2 separate regions of the Homo sapiens genome follow, and region 2 is linked to region 1. The links are contacts of gene promoters, found by promoter capture Hi-C in human tissues and cell types (Jung and others, 2019). All regions are on one chromosome and are shown on one strand. Each heading gives the region's core, a stretch centred on a gene start or on the middle of the fragment in contact. The rest is flanking DNA. Distances are from core to core; before and after follow the strand shown. Region 1 holds the start of INO80C (INO80 complex subunit C). Region 2 has its middle 36 kb from the start of ZNF24TR.

Region 1 (2,700 bases), core at 78-2,577:
GCTGTAACCTTGAAATCTTGGGCTTAAGTGATGCTCTTGTAGTTGGGACTAAAGGCGTGCACCATCACGCCCAGCTATTTGTAAATTTGGATGGGGGTTGGGGAGCAGGTCTCGAACTCCTGTCCTCAAGCAATCCTCTCACCTTGGCCTCTCAAAGTGCTGGGATACAGGCGTGAGACAGGATTCTTGAAGATCTGTGGTTCAGCCAGTATTCTTGAAAATTTGTGCATTGTACTCTGTGTAAATCTTACTATAGCAAAGTATTTAATATTAAAAGGTTAAAATAAAAAGCACTACCAATCACCTACAGAAGAAGGAACAAGATTTCTAGAACAGCCACTGACTGACTGGGTGAACGGTGGTGTCACACCATATGCTGAGGAGCACAAAGTAACACACTCTATCTCTGCTTTTTTGCTTTGAATAAAATGCAGGAGCCAGAGAAAACACTAATCAAGCCACTCCCTGCTGAAAATTCATTGCTGGAATTACGGAACCTAGATTGTTCAGAGGCCCTGACGTCTGAGCCAGGCGCTGAGCTCAGTGCCTTTACACTCATTACTTCATAACCTTAACAAGCCCATGAGTTAAGACCAAACCTGCCTTTGGATTGGGAAACCCAGGGTCAAAAAAGCACTTTTCTCAGGATGAGAGAAAGCATACTTATCAATACATCTTGTATTCATCCATGCAGGACATTACAGCGCTATGCGCCTCAAAGACACTGGGTAGATGTCTGCAGAATGGACGAGGGGAAGACACGCAAATTTCTGAATGACTGACACTCATTAGTCCTGAACCTCATGCTAAAGGCGACCTCGAGGGGAAGAGGCAGTCCTTCTATTAATACTAAGTCAGTAATAACCTCCCTACTTCTTCTTCTCTCCTTACAACACAAGGCGTTGTAAGCCCATGTGTCCAAACGAAGGGAAAGAGTAGTCATTCACTCCGCGGGGCAGCGTCTTTCAACCCCAACGGAGACCGCACGCGCAGCGCCCCACATTACGCACGCGCCCTGGCTCGGCTCCGCCCCGCCAAGTCCCGTTTCGCGACGCGCACGCGCAGCCTGGGAGCGCGACTGCGTACCTGCGCAAAGCTGGAAGCGGACGCTTTTTTCTTCTTACTGGCGCCATAGCCCCCGCCGCTGCTGCCATTGTGGGAAGGGCTGGCCGGCCTCTTCTTGCTGTTCCGGACTATTCCGGGAGTGGAAGTGGTGGCCACAATTGGAATTTGCGCCGCCATCGCACTCCGAGTCTTCCCCTGGTCCCCCCACCTTTTTCCCAGCGCGGGCCTTGGAACTTCCTTTCCGCTGTTACTTCCGTCTTGATGCTTGAAAACCCGGCCTGGACTCCAAGCTGTAGCTGGCTTCTCTCGGTGCAATCTAAAAGGCGGAGCTCGGAGTAGCCTGTGCCGTCGGGACGGGAAGATGTCAGCGGGCGTTGTCCTGCCACTCGGGCGCTCTGGGCGTGGGCCTTGGGTGGGGCACGTGCCTGGAAATCCCCATTGATAGAGGAATAGAAAATCTCCCAATCTTTTTAAGTAACTACGTTTTAAAAAATTAATGAGCGTGTTGTCTTTTCTCATATAGAAGAGTGATTACTTTTGATGTCTGTAAGCCTAAAGCTGGGGTCGTTCTCAGTAGACCGCCAAGCTACTGGCTTCTCCCTCTATCCCTCCCTGCCTTCCCACGCGGAAAAGGTTTGTATATAAATAGCGCCCAAATGGACATGAAGGGTAGAGTGGTTCTTAATCTCTCCCTTTTTTTTTTTCTTTTATTTGAGACGGAGTTTCGCTCTTGTTGTCCAGGCTGGAGTGCAATGGCGCGATCTCGGCTCACTGCAAACTCCGCCTCCCGGGTTCAAGCGATTCTCCTGCCTCAGCCTCCCGAGTAGCTGGGATCACAGGCATGTGCCACCATGCCCGGCTAATTTTGTATTTTTAGTAGAGACGGGGTTTCTCCATGTTGGTCAGGCTGGTCTCGAGCTCCCGACCTCAGGTGATCTGCCCGCCTCGGCCTCCCTAAGTGCTGGGATTACAGGCGTAAGCCACCACGCCCGGCCGGTTCTTAATCTCTTAGGATTCACAGACTCTTGAGCATGGAATCTGTGCTTCCTATCCCTGCCGCACACCCCCACCTCCCCACCACCCCATTAAATGTATACAGACACAGACAAAATTTTACAGATTTCAGGGAGGTCACAGATCTACTAAAACCTATTTAGGAACCTGAGTCCCCCTACCCGCCTTGTTCTTTGCCTCATTCTACCCTATATTTTTACAGAACCTTTGCGACATCATATAACTAAATGATTTATAATCGGATGGTTAATGTCTTTTTTGGCTCCTGCTAGAATGTAATCTGTATGAGGGAAGGGTCAGTTATGTCTTGTTAACTTATCAGTCCCCCCAATCACAGTACCTTGCAAGTCATTGGTGCATTATAAGTATTTTTAATGATGTATTTAACGAATGAACTAACTCCCTGCAGTGATTGGTGGAAGCTACTATGTTTGAATACAGGAAGTTGATGTATATGAGTCTTGATATTTGAAATAAACAGGCTGCACAATGACTTAGAGGTGAGAGAGAAGGAGCAGTTAGGGAAACTTGCAATATTGTTACTGACATATTTTTTCCTTTAGAGAAAGGAATAAGCCTACCAGTGTTGAAATGTTCTTTCCCACACCCCATCTCCATCCC
Region 2 (2,751 bases), core at 37-2,536, 67 kb before region 1:
CTTAGTGAGCTAAAATTAAAGTGACAGCAGGCCTGCTTCCTTTCTGGAGGCTCTAGGGGAGAATGTGTTTCCTTGCTTTTTCCAGTTGCTAGAAGCCACCACATTCCTTAGCTCATGGCCCCTTCCTTCATCGTCAAAGCCAACAATGGTACATGTCTCTGGCCATTTGTTTTGGTATTTACATTTTCCTTTCTGACTGTCTCTTTCACTTTTAAGGACCCTTAACATTATATTGGGCCCACTTGAATAATCTAGATTTTTCTCTCTGTTTTAACATCAGCTCACTAGCAACCGTAATTTCATCCACAACTTTAATTCTGCTTTGCCATGTAACCTAACACAGTCACAGGTACCAGGGATTAGGACATGAACATTTTTGAGGGGGTGTCTGCCACAGTCCCCTCCTCAATTATTTATCCATAGGTTTTAGGCATATGGTTAGGGGTAGGAGCCAGGAGATGCCAATAATAACAGGACTGGAAAAACCATGAGAGAAGGGATTCAAGTTCTGCATAAGAAACTTCAAGGAAAGTTTTCCAGTGTCACTATCATAAATAAAAGAGATATGAAATCTTCACAAAAAGGTGCAAGGCAAACTGAGAAACTCCTTTGCATGACTTGCCAGTCTTGGCTGCATTCAGAATTTGTTTGGAGAAGGAAAAGGCCCTTCCTTTTTCTCTCTAAACAGAGATTCAGTAATGCCAAATGGGCCCTCGTTGATGGAAAAAATCACTATGTAACTTTAAAAAAATTATAGAAATGTAAATCAGTGATGACAACAAGTCTTTGGCCCATCTGATAAGGTGGCTGGTGCCCACTGCTGGTGGCCTTTGCTGGGGCTCAAATAGAGAAGAGCCACCAGGATGAGGGTAGGGTCCCCAGCATCCCCTCTCTGTGAGTCAGCTTACAAAAGGCCATGTTGACTTGGATGTGAATCACGCCTATCTGTTCCAAGCAAGATTAAAAACCCAAGAAAATTATTGTTGAGCAAGGTGTTTTATGACTTTAGCTTACTTCCTTTTTTGAAACATTAGGAAATGTCAAAGTTAGTTTGTTCAGATTTATTAGAGAATGTGTGGAAAAGGGAAAACCTAAAAAACAAAACAAGAACAAAACCGCTTGTGGTTGGTTGACGCACAACTGTCTCTTGGGCATCATTTCTAGGCAAAGATTGTCATTTTGTAAACAAGGGTTTATCTCCCAGACTTCCTTGTTTTTGGATAGCTGATTGCCAGACATTGCTGGCACATGCATACTCACACAGTTATCTATACTTGTTCCTTGCTGCTTATTGCTCATGCTAAAACCTCTTGAATGTAAGGTTTTCAAACAGTAACATTTCCAAATACTAACACTTTGGCATTCTCACGTATATACTTTGTGTATTCGGAAGTTGTATTATTAACGTGGTGCAAACCTTGTGTTTAGTTTAATTAAACAGCAATGCTTTGCTATGTTTATTTCTTGGAGGGTGTGTGTGTGTGTGTACGTGTTCCATGCATGCCTCACATTTCTATTTGCATATGTGCATAAATCAAGAAAGCAACCAAATAAACAAACGCTGTTCTACTTCCCTACTAAAGTGACTTTTAAAGACTTATTGAATTATATTTTAGTGAATTTGAGTAAAGCATTTAAGTGCAGGGCAAATTAGAGCAAGCAAAACATTCGAGCATACATAACCATTTTATCTTGGCTCATGGCCCCTTCTTCATCTTCAAAGCCAACAATGGTGCATGTCTCTGGCCATTTGTTTTTGGGATTTAAATTTACATTAAAACAAATTTAAATTAAAATTTGTTTTAAATTTTAATTTAAAACAAAATTGTGGCCACAGCATGGATTGTGCTTCTATATTTATTTGCTCAGCTTCAAAAGTAAGACTAGTCCAGCCTTTATCCTGGGCAGGCTGTGGTCAACAAGCCACCAATCTCTTCAGTGGGGCCAATATCAGAGGACTGGCATGGGGACCTCAGATATCCATCAGGTTCCTCTCTCAGGAACATGGGAGCAGTGATCTTTTGGGGGGCCACATGGACACTGCATCCCCTGCCTTGGGCACTGGATGGTATTATCTTGCTGGAATTCCCTTCCAACTCTGCCAAGAATGTCTTTGAGACAGAGAGACTGATGGGAAGAAAGTGAGGAGGACCAGCTCTAATGAGGTTCAACTGCAGAGGTTTCAGTGTTGGTTGTGCTGTTTGACTTCACTGGGACCCCATCCTCCAGTTTCAAGCACTTCTCAGAACTCATGATTATTCCTCAATCTGAAACTTTAGAGAGGTTGGGGGACCACTTCAGACACCTAAGGGCAACAGAAAGGAAGCGCCGTGTGCCAGCACTCTACTGTCATTCGTGGTGAAAAGCTTCCTTCTCTTTCCTATTTTTTGTGGTTGGCAAAATATAAAAGGTCTTTCTACTTATTTCAAAAGGAAAAATAGAATGAGGGAGGGAGGGGGAGGTAAAGGCAGAAAGAGAGAGATCAGTTCATTTTTGTTTGGGGAAAACTTTTAGTCTATAACAGCAGCAAACATGTATTGTGGCAGTGGCCTCAGCCCTGCTGAAGGAAATCCAGGCCACATTAAAATCTGGGGAATTTGAAACGGCAGTGTTTGTAGTGGCCTGCAGATTTCCACTGGCAATTTCTTTAAAGCCAAAGAGTTATAATTAAAATAGAAATGGATCCAATTATTTCTGCCTCCTGTCTGAAAGGATGTAGCTGGTAATGAGAATCACATGTCTAAATTTCAG

What was found. The method cuts DNA at HindIII sites, captures the fragments that hold promoters and counts their contacts. A contact is called where the count stands out against the background at its distance.
Region 2: a fragment that was not itself captured here is called in contact with the fragment with the promoter of INO80C in region 1 in 2 of the 25 tissues and cell types used here (IMR-90 fibroblasts and liver).

Annotation. Positions count from the first base shown.
Region 1 is chr18:35,496,633-35,499,332 of GRCh38, forward strand. It overlaps INO80C (INO80 complex subunit C), which reads right to left and starts at 1,328. Exons shown (of 5, transcript NM_194281.4): 1 at 1,087-1,328. The coding sequence starts at 1,242. RefSeq lists enhancers at 346-495, 766-885, 1,236-1,505. The HindIII fragment of the contact is 7,991 bases long and covers 1-2,700 here.
Region 2 is chr18:35,430,040-35,432,790 of GRCh38, forward strand. No RefSeq gene overlaps it. Among named protein-coding and RNA genes, the nearest start is that of ZNF24TR, 36 kb to the right of the region's middle. RefSeq lists a silencer at 2,184-2,397. The HindIII fragment of the contact is 7,027 bases long and covers 1-2,751 here.